3 separate regions of the Homo sapiens genome follow, and all the other regions are linked to region 2. Evidence: promoter capture Hi-C in 16 types of primary human blood cells and fetal thymus (Javierre and others, 2016). All regions are on one chromosome and are shown on one strand. Each heading gives the region's core, a stretch centred on a gene start or on the middle of the fragment in contact. The rest is flanking DNA. Distances are from core to core; before and after follow the strand shown.

Region 1 (4,503 bases), core at 11-2,510, 510 kb before region 2:
AGTTGACCTGGATTTCCCCCATTGACATTGCCACTTGATTAGCTCCGAAATATAGAGATTATGAATCCTGTTTCATTCTAGACTTAAGTAGCAGGAAACTTCTGCTTTTCTTCTCAAACATACTCCTTCAAATTTATAGATGTCAGAAATCTCCATAGAATCACAGGGCAGATGTTTCTGGCGTGTGATTCACTCATAGAGACTAGGTGGGTATCATTATAGAAATTTTCACAGGCTCCCAGGGTACTACAAATTAGAGCCATTTCTTACTAATTTCAATCTATTTGGGTGAAGAGCAGTCAGAATTTTTTAAATCTTTTAATCATATGTTTAGAAAAACTTCTTGCAATAATTTCAAACTTACAAAATTTTTTATACAATACATAAAATATTCATATATCCTTTACCCAGATTTCTAAAATTTTTAACATTTTAACCACAATTTAAAAATCATTGTTTTTCTGTTTGCCCATGTCTGTACTCTTTTATATTTTTTGAATCATTTGAGGGGTAAGCCTTTTACACTTTCTTTTACCTCTTAATATTTTCTAATTATTGCCTAAGACTAAGGACATTCTTTATTCTTTATTTATTTATTTATTTTTGAGACAGAATTTCACTCTGTCACCTAGGCTGGAGTACAGTGCTGTGATCTTGGCTCATTGCAACCTCAGTCTCCCAGGTTCAAGCAATTCTCCTGCCTCAGCCTCCTGAGTAGCTGGGATTACAGGTGTGTGCCACCACGCCCAGATAATTTTTGTATTTTTAGTAGAGATGGGGTTTCACCATGTTGGTCAGGCTGGTCTTGAACTCTTGACCTCATGATCCACCCACCTCGGCCTCACAAAGTGCTGGGATTACAGGCGTGAGCCACTGTGCCCAGCCTGGCATTCTCTTACATAACCATAGTACAGTTATCAAATTCAGGACACTTTGATGCAATAGTTTTATGTATATTTTTTCCAATTATCTCAGTAATGTCCTCTATAACTTTTTTACCCTTTCCAGTCCAGAAGCCAGTACAGGACCATGGATTACATTTAGTTGTCTGTTTCTTTAGTCTCTTTTAACCTAGATCAGTTCCTTAGTCTTTCCTTTGCCTTTCATGGCAAAAGCCAGTAGTTTTATGGAATGTTTCTCCATTTGGGTTTGCTGATGTTTCCTCCCTGGCCACAAAACTACATAAACAATTCTGTGTCCTCCTCAGGTATCCCAGGCATAAAATATCCATCTGCTCCTCATTCATTCATTATATTAATTTTGATCACCTGATCAAACTCTTGTTCATTTTCTTCACTATAGAATTTCTATTTTCTCCCTTGCAACTAGTAAGCAATATGTTGAAAGACACTTTAAGCCCATGCAAATATTCTACTCCTCATCACACTTTTCTTCCTAAACTTGATTCTTGCTCTAATTCAAGTTTGCTATAATGGCTGTAAACTGTTGATATTACATGTTTACCCACTCTCTCCACATTTATTGGTAGGTGTTCTTTTGTTCTATAAGAAATGTCTCTCTCCCTCCCCTTTCCTCTCTCTCTCTCTCCCTTTCCTCTTTCTTCTCTCCCCTCTCTCACTTCTCTCCTCTTTGCCTCTCTTCCTCTCTCCCTTCTTCCCTATTATTAGTATGAATATATAGATTCCAATTTTATCCATGGGTTATACTTCATTTTTCTTATTAATGCTTTTTTTTTTTGAGAAGGAGTTTCATTTTTTCCCCCAGGCTACAGTGCACTGGCACAATCTTGGCTCACTTCAACCTCCACCTTCTGGTTTCAAGTGATTTTCCTGCCTCAGCCTCCTGAATAGCTGGGATTACAGGCGCTTACCACCATACCCAGCTAATTTTTGTATTTTTTAGTAGAGACGGGGTTTCACCACTTTGGCCAGGCTGGTCTCGAACTCCTGACCTTGTGATCTGCCCACCTCAGCCTCCCAAAGTGCTGGGATTACAGGCATGAGCCACCATACTCGGCCTTTGTTATTAATACTTTTAATGCTCAGATTGTCACAGACTTGGAAAGTTGGATCCCCTTTAAGCTGGCTCCCTTTTGATATGCTCCCATAATTTTTGTTTAAAACAACACTTTCTTGCTTTCTGGTTCAACAAGATATTTCAGACCCATCAAGTAGCATCCCTGTTCCAGCGCAGGAATCAGCCATTTCTCAAAGGACCTCTCTTTACTTATCATGGGGAATGGTATTTAGAAACCAAAATCTTAGCACTAGATGTTTTCATTGTTACTGAGGGGGTCTGCCTCCAGGCCCTTTTTGAGGATAGAGCTAAGAAAGCTACACACACAGAGATGCATACACACATACACACACACAAAGGCTTGTCTATACATGTCATAGAAATTCTGCAGTTATACTGATACTTTCAATATCAATCCCACTCCACGAGTTTCTTTTTTGCCTTCCCCCCACCCACTCCATCTTTGAATCTCCCTTCTTCCACAATGAGAATTCTGCCTTTCAACAGCATCAGAACACTGACTCATTTTCCCAGTTCTAAAACACACATAAAATCGTTTCAGAATTGCTATACCCAAATCACCATGCATATCAAATCAAATCAAGTAAAAAGAAATTAAGATGCATTTGAAGTTCTTTATTTTTTTCCCTAGAGTAAAAGTATATTATCAAAGTGTTGTCTTTAAAGTTACCTGAATTAGTTCTTTGCCCCTGCAACCCCCACTTCAATGTAGTAATGTTATCCATTTCGTAGAGGTTTATGCAGAGAAGTATCACTGCCTTCTCTATCACTTCTGTCTGATTTTCCCTCACCTTTTGTAGGTAAGTGATTTCATTGTCTTCTGGTTTATTTTTCCTGTGTTTCTTTTTCCAAAAAAGAGCAGACTTGTGTATTTTCTTATTTCTCCTTGCTTACACAAAAGGTAGCATATTGTAGATGCTCTTCTACAATTGGCTTTAAAAAAAAACTTATCTCCTGAAGTTCATAGAAATACTTTTTAGTGAAATTGTGTAGTACTCTGTTGTGTGAAGTACTCCAAGGTATTCAGATAGTTCCCAATATTTTGCTATTACAAATAATGCTGCAGTTAAGAACCTTGTATGTATGTACTTCCTTTTTTTTTTTTTTTTTTTTTTTTTTTTGACAGAGTCTGGCTCTATCTTCCAGGCTGAAGTGCAGTGGCGCAATCTTGGCTCACTGTAACTTCCACCTCCCAGGTTCAAACAATTCTCGTGCCTCAGCCTCCTGCGTAGCTGGGATTACAGGAACATGCTACCACGCCTGGCTAAATTTTTTTGTATTCTTAGTAGAGATGGGTCTTTGCCATGTTGGCCGGGCTGGTCTGTAACTGCCTGCCTCAGTCTACCAAATTGCTGGGGTTACAGGCATGAGCCACTACAACTGACCCATATTTTGGTATTTTGAAGATGTATCTTCATGATATATTCCTGGAATTAGGACTCCTTAATTGAAGAGTAAATGTCTGTGTGGTTTTGTTAGATATTGACAAATCCCCCTTCATGAGGCTATACCATTTTGCATTTCCATGATCAGTGTTTGAGAGTGTGTATTTCCCTAGAGTCTCTTCAATGGAATGTATTATCAAGCTTTTGAATAGTTGCTAATCTGGTGAATGAGAAGAGTCTCTGTGTAGTTTCAATTTTAATTTCACGAGTGAAATTGTACATGTTTTTCTATGTTTAAGGGCCATGTTTATATCTCTTTTTGGGAAATTTTCATGTCTTGTGCCCACTTTAAGATAGTACTGTCAGTGTTTCCTCAATTTTACAAATTCTTACATAATAGGGATATTAACTCTGTATCTGTGATTAAATACTTAAAATATTTTCTTCCAATTTGTTATTTGTCTTTTAACTTTGTTTATTGTTTTTGCCACTTGCTTTTTTTGTAGTCAGATCTGTTAAGCATTTCTTCTCTTTCCTGTGGCTTTTGAGGTATAGTCAGAAATCTACCTACAATCAAATTTTAGAGAGATTCATTTCGGTTTCATTCTGGCACTTGTATAGTTACATTCAGACCTTGAATCCATTTAGCACGTATTCTTATGTGTGTGAGAAGTGGACATAATTTTATCTTTTCCTCAACTGTCTGTCCAGTTGCCCCACCATCTTTGTTTAAAAGCCCATTTGTTCCCTAAGATTTGAGATAATACCACCTCTGTCATAGTCTAGATTTCCATATGTTGTTGGGTCTGTTTCTGGACTTTCTATTCTGTTCTATCTGTTCATGTGCCAGTACCACACTGTTCTTAAAGCAGAGACTTTATAGTATGTTTTAATGTGAGTATGGCTGGTCTCTGTTACTTCACCTCACCCCCCCATCGACACGCTATATTTATTCCTTTTCAGTATTTCCCTACCATGTTTATTTCTCCATATGAACTTTAGTATTAATTTGGCTAGCTACAGAAAGAAAAGGGATTTCTGTTTTATTGGAATTTTATCAAATTTATGAATTACCTTTGAGAAAACTGACATCCAAATACCATTGAGACATCCTAACCAA
Region 2 (4,460 bases), core at 722-3,221:
CCATAAAAAGCAGAAAAGCACCTTCCCGTTCCTTTAGCTTAATTCTTGTAAATTCATGGCAGTTGCTAAAATCACATTCCTTTTTTTTGATTCACTAGACATGTGATAAGGGCTTACTGTGTCCCCAGCCTTGTCCTAAGTGCTAGAGTTAAAGCAGTGAACAAAACACATAACATCCCTGACCTCGTGGAGCTTATATCCTAGTTGGGGAGATAGACAACAAGAATAAAATGAAACATAGCCTGCCAAATGATGATAAATGTTTTGGAAAACAAACAGATAAAGGTGCCAGGGACAGCTGTTGGGGACTGCTATTTTGGGTGTCATAGAATTCACTGATAAGATAATATTTGAGCAGAGACATGAAGGAGGTGAGGGAGTGAGCCTGGACATCTCAGGAAGAGCATTGGAGCAGAGGGAACCTTGCTAATGTAGGGATGTGCCTGATATGTTTGAGAAACAGCAAAAAGACCACCCAGGAGGGAGCACCATGGGTTGGGAGGAGAGCAGTAGGAAATAAATTTAGAGGTAACAGGACCTGGTTATATAGGGCTTAGTAAGGGACTGGAAAAATGTTGACTTTCAATCTGAGTGAGATGGGAAGGCATCACAGGGTTCTGAATAAAATGTTCTATTCTGACATTTAATAGGAACACTCCACCTGATGCAGAGAACAGTGACAGAGGCAGGCAGACCAGTAAGGAGGCTGTGGCCACAGTCCACACAAGAGATGATGATAGCAGGTTACCAAATGGGTACAGTGGAGGAGGTGAAAACCAGTTGGATTCTGGTTATGCCATGAAGATATTTTCAGGATCAAACAATACATACAAACATACTGGTGCATGGGCATAATGATTGATGATATCTGGTAGGGGTTTCAAGGTGACCTTGGGTGAAGAATAATCAAAGCTACATATTGGGTACAATGTACATTACTCGGGTAAGAGATGCAATAATATCTCAGACTTCACCACTGTGCAATCCATCCAGGTAACCAAAAACCACTTGCACTATTGCACAGCTACTGAAATAAAAAAAATACATATTTTTTAAATGTTACCACTCCTTTATGTTTTGGTTTTCAGAAATAAATTTTAAAAAATTTTTTAAAGAATAATCAAAGCAAAATCAATAGCATCTTTTATCCAGAAAAATAAGAGTGAAGAGCAGGAAAGGTTAACCTCATTAAGCCCTATGTCCTATGAGTGGAGATTTTAAATAATATATTAGTGATCACAGTCCAAAAACTCAGATTAGTCATTGTGCTTATCACCTGTGTTTGAATAACAATGTTTCTTTTTCTTTTCTGAATTCAAGTTCACAAACCATTTTGAATTTTTGCATGCCAATTATTTCCAGAATGCCGAACTGCTTAAAGGACATGAATATTACTCGGTGGAGCTATTAATGTCCCAGCAAATAAGAAAGAACAAGTTGTTTCCCTGTTGTTGGCTCTACAGCTCTATAGTTTTCCAGAGAGGGAGAAGGGTGGTGTTCAGATTATCATTCATGATGAAACTTTTAAAAGATGCTCAGCTGCCCACCAAATCATAGGATGAAGGAAAGGGCCTAGCAGAAACACAGTTGCTCTGACTTCCCTTCAATGGACAGCACCAAAGTCATACTGAACACCAGTTTTTAAACACTTCTCTGAAAAACAATAAGAAACACTTAGCCCTTTGCTACCAAGACCTGGTTGAAGAAAATGCTGTTGGTTCCCTGAGGGCTGGCTCTGTAGTCTTGTTCATTTCTGCATCCCCGATGTCTAACACAGTGCCTGGCATATAACAGTTGCTCAATAAACATTTGTTTGACTGAATAAACGATTCGAGAAGCCAATGGACAAATGTTCTTTGACATCATTCTATCCCTTTATGGAATGTCTATTACAAGCAAAGAATAACACAAGAGGAGTTTCATAATACTCCTCAGGCCCTGAGGCTAACCAGATCTGATTTCAGCCCTCACTTTACCACTACTCGCTATAGAGCCCTGGTCAAGTTCTCTCCACCTCTCTATCTATGTCTCAGTTTCTTCATCTGTAACATCAAATGAATAATAATACCAATCTCCTAGACTTCATAAGAGGATTAACAAAGACAAAATATGGGAAAAACATAACATGGCGTCCCATAATTATTAGATCTTATTATTGACACTAAAATGGCATTAAAATTACCAAAAGGAAGACAGCATCTGGTAAGTAAACTTTATTTATTTATTTATTTATTTTTTTGAGATGGACTCTCGCTTTATCGCTGCCCAGACTGGAGCGCAGTGGCGCGATCTCGGCTCACTGCAAACCTCACCTCCTTGACTCAAGCAATTCTCCTGCCTCAGCCCCACTGAGTAGCTGGGATTACAGGCACACACCGTCACGCCTGGCTAATTTTTGTATTTTTAGTACAGACGGGGTTGCACCATGTTGGCCAGGCTGGTCTGGAACTCCACACCTCAAATGATCCACCCACCTCCGCCTTCCAAAGTGCTGAGATTACAGGTGTGAGCCACCGTGTCTGGCCACATCTTGTAGATAAACTTTAAAAATCTTTTTTCTTTGTTATGAACAATTTTAAGTACATACAAAAGTAGAGTATAATAAACCTGACACCCAATTTCAACAGTTATCAGCTCATGGATGGTAACCCCCTTTCCCAGGCCTTTGTATTATTTTGAAGCAAATCCCAGACATGACACCATTTCATCTGTAGTACTATAATAGGTAGCTCTAAAAAAAAATAAAAATAATAACCAAAATTCCACATCACACCTAAAAACAATGAAAAATGATTCCTTAATTAGATAAATGGTTGGTCTGCTGGAAGCCACAAGAAGAAAGGAAGAAGAGAATCAAATCTGTTCAAGACAGGGGCTTAAGCAAGTTCTCTCCAGAGTCAACACGATGATGGAAATACCCGTTGTCACCGTCAAGGTGGACTCTCCCTGCTGCGGAGTGGGGCCGAGGTCGGGGGAGGGCAGGGAATGAAGCCAGCATTTCATGCCTGAAAGGAGGCAGAGCGGAGATCCCCTAGTGACTAAAACTTTCTTACTTCCCAAACAAAACAGCATTTCATTTGAAACAATTCTGTACAAATTCTTCTGCTTCCAGATTGATGGGAAATTAGAATTTAATTTTATCTTTTCATCTACCTTGAGGCCTTGTTGACAGTGTTGGCTTTTATGCAGGTTCTATTACACAACTAGAGCTAATTGAACAGTGACAGAACTGGTCTGGTTTGTGAAATTTAATAGAGCACCAAAGCTCACGTTTTGGGGAGAATTCAGTTCTTAAATATGTTTTGCTTATCCCACTCCGCCTAATTTCCCCTCATTTGTTTGACAAAGTCAGCAACCCAGTGGAAACCTCAATTTCGTTCTCTGCTGCTCTCATCATAAAACCTCGAATTTAAATATTTTCCTTTTATTCTTAGCTGGAACTTGGAGCAATTTGGTGGCTTCAAAATGAGATCTATTGGTATTGAAGCCATTGAACATCAATAGTGCAAACCCACATTATCATCCCCCATTTAAATACCAAAGTAAATGTGAAGTGGTAAACATTAGCAGGGAAGTGAATAACAATGCTGAGAAGGTTGCAAGCTAAGGAGCATGAAGAGGTGAAAAGGGAACATAAAACGTGCTGCATGTTTCTTCTTTCAAAGCAGAAGCTACCTTATAAGCACCAAAAACTTCAGCTGGAGGAGATACAAGCCTGGATTCAGAAGACTGCCGTAGAACAGAGGCACTGGGAAACCTGATGTTATCCACACAAACCTTTCCACATAGGGCTGGCCTCAGAAAGCATGCAGCGCAACTGCCCTCCAATAACTGAAATTTGTTAAATGAAAATTGATAGTGGCCTGGTCCACTGGGATCTGGTTTCTGAGGAAATTTCTGATAAGCTCTCTTCTAAGACCCTTTGCTCAGGAATAAGGTTTTCCCTGCGTGGCCCCAGCTCCACCCAAGGCCTCACAGTCTCAGGCACCCGAGTGTCTAGAAATGTTCACAGGTGCTGGGTCATGGGGTTGGGATGGAGGGTCTACACTTGAGAACAACTCCTCTGCTCCTGTCTGTATGCAGAAGGCCATTCTTCCCTTTCTCTTTGAAGACTCTGCCTCCTCCACATCAGCAGCACCCAACCCTCTCCTTTTAGCACTTTCATTTTACCTGCTTCCCCTCCTACATTCTAGTCTTGGTTAATGGTTGTGATGGAGGGTGGGAGGCAAAGTGGCTTTGCAAGCCGGCTTCTGAAACTTTTCATCTCCCATTTAAGAAGGAGAAGAAAAAGACAGAGAAGGTTAGATGAATAGAAGTTGTAACCCTGCTGTAGCTCCTTATTCTCTACTTTTCCCTTGAGAAGCAAGCTTAAGGAAGGCAGGGGCAATGTCTCTCTTATCTGCTGCTGCATCCTTGCTGCTGAGACTAATTCCTAGTTTATGGTAGGACAGCAAATATTT
Region 3 (4,185 bases), core at 487-2,986, 460 kb before region 2:
TTCTGGACACATTTCTAATGATTTCACTTAATAACCACGTTTTATGTAGCTTTGAATTACTAGAGCTATCTAGTTATTATGAACCACAGGATACGATGTCAGAATCTCAAAGCACAAGAGAAATAGGACTAACTAACTTATACAAAGTAATTTGGAATTTGCAAAGTACTTTCACACTCATTAGCTCAATTTTTTTTTTTGAGATGTAGCCTTGCTCTGTTGCCCAGGCTGGTGTGCAGTGGTGCGGTCTCAGCTCACTGCAGCCTCTGCCTCCCGGGTTCAAGTGATTCTCCTGCCTAGCCTCCCGAGTAGCTGGGACTACAGGTGTGCACTGCCGTGCCTGGATACATTTGCTTTTGTAATTTTGGTAGAGACAGGGTTTCACCATGTTGGCCAGGCTGGTCTCAAACTCCTGACCCCAAGTGATCTGCCCGCCTCAGCCTCCCAAAGTGCTAGGCATAAGGTACCGCACCTGGCCCATTAGCTCAATCTCGCTGATGGTTTTGGACATTGTTCTGGCAAAAAAAGATGAGGCCTAGAAGTGCTACCTCAAACAAATGATTTCAGAATTAAAATGAGGCAATATTTTAAGTACTTTCTACTCCTGCATGGGCAAAGTCATTTTTTTTGATACAAATATTTTCTGTCTTTTGGAGAACCCTCTATAGCAGTGGCTCCCAACCTTTTTGGCACCAGGGAGTAGTATCGTGGAAGACAATTTTTCCGTGGAAGTGGGTTTGGGGAGGGGATGGTTTTGGGGTGAAACTGTTCCCACCTCAGATCGCCAGGCACTAGATTCTTATAAGTAGCCGGCAACCTAGATCCGCCGTTCACAATAGGGTTCATGCTCCTATGAGAATCCAATGGCCCCACTGATCTGACTGGAGGCGTGGAGCACAGGCGGTAATGCTCACCCACCCACGGCTCACCTCTTGCTGTGAGGCCTGTTCCTGACAGGCCACAGACCAGTATGGATCCATGGTCCCGGGGGTTGAGGACCCTTGCTCTGTAGCATACATTTGAGATCTCGTCTTATTCTAATTGTTGCAAGCAATACAACATCAGAATTTCTGGTTATGGAGTCTTGGGCCTCTTTTTACTGATTTGGAAGGAAATTTTCAAAATTTGCCTAGTTAAGCAGTTGACTCCTTTTGCTTTAGTGAGCTCAGTCTTATTATATCCAGTGTTCTTGCTATATCTCTTGATAATGAGGCTTTATACATATATATATATACACACACACACACAATCATACATACGTGTATAATGATACCTGTATATATGTATAATAATAATGAAGCTTTGTATATAAAGCCTTATCATATAAAGCCTGTGTGTGTGTATATATGTGTGTGTATATATATATATACACACATACACATACATATATATATATACACATACACATACATATATATATACACACATACTGACAGGCCACAGACCATATATATATATGTGTGTGTGTGTGTATATATGTGTGTGTGTATATATATATATATACACATACACATACATATATATATACACATACACATACATATATATACACACACATACTGACAGGCCACAGACCATATATGTATATGTGTGTGTATATAATGTGTACACACACACGTACACATTACTATATATATATAGTGACAGTGTAATTTATTTATAGAGACATTTAAACTCCATGACATGGACAAGCCCAAAGCTATGGTTCTCTCTACAATGAGCCTATTTACATTTTCCTTATACAAGAGAAACTTTCTAAAGATCTTCTTTACTTTTTTTTTTTTTTGAGGCGGAGTCTCACTCTATTGCCCAGGCTGGAGTACAGTGGCGCAGTCTTGGCTCACTGCAAGCTCCGCCTCCCGGGTTCACACCATTCTCCTGCCTCAGCCTCCCAAGTAGCTGGGACTACAGGTGCCCGCCACCACGCCCGGTTAATTTTTTTTGTATTTTTAGTAGAGACGGGGTTTCACCGTATTAGCCAGGATGGTCTCGATCTCCTGACCTCATGATCCGCGCGCCTCGGCCTCCCAAAGTGCTGGGATTACAGGCATGAGCCACCGCGCCTGGCTGACCTTCTTTACTCTTAATCCTAGGACCATACCTAGTGTAAAATTTTTTTAATTAGAGAAAATCCTGAAATTTTCAAAAATGTAAAAACAAATCTAAAGCTTTAGGTCTGCCTAATCCAAAATGAATTCCACTTTAACATGTGCCATTTCATGGAAAAATAACTGGGTCCTTTTTATTTTAGACATAAGCAAGTATCTTTCTAGAGTTAGGAACTCAAAATAATGGCAGTAAAACGCATTTATTCAGATTCTTACTGAATAGCTACTATTCCCAACATTATGCTGGGGTGACAATATGAAAGAAGGCACAGTCCCTCGTAGTGTTTGGTCTAGTGGAAGAGGAAGATGATTGAGCTCTTCACTTGTAACAGAATAGACTCCTGCCAAAACTCTAGAGCCTAGGGGCAGGACAAACTATGGATTTTTCATGCAATAATAATAATAATACTCTATATTACTATATAAATACATATATATCCATACATACATTAGTATACTATACTTGACATTACTACATATGCATATATATCCTTGTATATACTCTAACATTACTATATATACATACACAAATAAAACTATATATACATATATAAAGATACATATATACACACATTAGTATACCATATTTGACATTACTACATAGTCACATATTTTCTTACATATACTGTAACATTACTATGTATACATATATAAGGATATACATGTCTACATACATGTATAAGAATATATATGTATATGTAGTAATGACAAGTATAGTATACTAATGTGTGCACATATGTATATGTATTTACATAGTAATATCAAGTATTATTATTATTGCATGAAAAATCTATAACTTGTATGCAGATATATTTCTATGTGTCTGTATAGACACATATCTGTGTGTATATGTGTGTGTGTATGTGTATGTGTGTGTGTGTGTTTGTGTATGTGTATATATAAAAAATATATATATATAGTTATCTTTTCCTCGATTTCTAATACATAACTTGGCATAGGGCAAAATCTCAATAAATATTTCCTGAGTTAATAAGCTAAAGAAATGTTATTTGATTTGAAGACTAAAAGAATCCCTAGCACATGAAGGGCTTTAAAATAAAAGAGAGGGAGAGTCTGGGTCTCACTCTATTTGTCGTTTAGGACTCAAATCTTTGGATGCCTTCTAATATATTGCCCATGGGGTATCATCTTTATGATGCGGATCTTACTCCTTAGCTTCTTCCTTTCAATTCAGTTTAGGAAATATCTTTTGAATAACTACTGTGTGCTAGACAATGATAAGTACTGAGATATAAAAATGGTTTCAGTAAGGAGGAAACTCAAATATAATGTGGAAATAAAAGTATGTGACCCTAAGGATGCAGATTGTATTTTGTTCATCTTTTTATCTCCAATGCCATGGCAGATAGCTGGTTGAAGGTTGTCAGATGAATGGATACATGGATAGAGGAATTAAGACTTAAAAGACAGCAGTAATAAGGGAATAATTCTCATTTGATTTATGTGTGAGGGAGAAAGGGCTTAGTCTTGAAAGACTGCAAATTGGAGATGACAGTTGAACTTGGGTTTGAAGATGAGAAGAAGCTCTTAAGGTAGAGAAGGGGAGATGAATAGCATAGTCAAGAGGAGGCAGAGCGAATAGACATGGGAGAGTGAAAGAACACAGCTCCCCGTGGCTCCCTTGGGGAAGCTGGGGACAAACTGGCTGTGCTAGTGGAGAAGAAATGATTTCTCATTGTTACAGTATTCTTTCACCATGGAGGACCAGAAGGCTAGTCTTGTTTCAGCTCTCAAGATAGGGTAATTTCTCCCCGCTCCCCTGCTTTTTAAAATTTCCTTAGCTTACTTGGTTCTCAGTTTTGGAGAAAAGTGAAGTAAGAAATGTGGGAAACAGGACAGATGAGGAAACTGATGTTAAGTGGCTCATCCAGGATCACCTTAGTAACTTCATTCCCTGCCTTGCCTGCTTCAGCCTGATGTGTGTCCCTGGAAATTTGTAACTGATTCTTTGGATTGTTGCCAGAGTTTGAAAATAATATTAGGTTGGTGCAAAAGTAATTGCGGTTTTTACTTTTCACCAACATATACAACTCAGCAATCCCAGATGGACTCCAAA

What was found. The method cuts DNA at HindIII sites, captures the fragments that hold promoters and counts their contacts. A CHiCAGO score of 5 or more calls a contact.
Region 1: a contact is called between a fragment that was not itself captured here and the fragment with the promoter of IL22RA2 in region 2, in 1 of 17 cell types (monocytes). The highest score is 5.4, in monocytes.
Region 3: a fragment that was not itself captured here is called in contact with the fragment with the promoter of IL22RA2 in region 2 in 1 of 17 cell types (total CD4 T cells); the score reaches 5.9 in total CD4 T cells.

What each region holds. Positions count from the first base shown.
Region 1 is chr6:137,676,546-137,681,048 of GRCh38, reverse strand. No RefSeq gene overlaps it. Among named protein-coding and RNA genes, the nearest start is that of LINC03004, 13 kb to the right of the region's middle. RefSeq lists an enhancer at 1-56. The HindIII fragment of the contact is 4,653 bases long and covers 1-3,586 here.
Region 2 is chr6:137,171,155-137,175,614 of GRCh38, reverse strand. It overlaps IL22RA2 (interleukin 22 receptor subunit alpha 2), which reads left to right and starts at 1,971. Exons shown (of 7, transcript NM_052962.3): 1 at 1,971-2,202. RefSeq lists enhancers at 2,997-3,216, 3,113-3,871. The HindIII fragment of the contact is 14,362 bases long and covers 1-4,369 here.
Region 3 is chr6:137,626,380-137,630,564 of GRCh38, reverse strand. No RefSeq gene overlaps it. Among named protein-coding and RNA genes, the nearest start is that of LINC03004, 37 kb to the left of the region's middle. The HindIII fragment of the contact is 868 bases long and covers 1,303-2,170 here.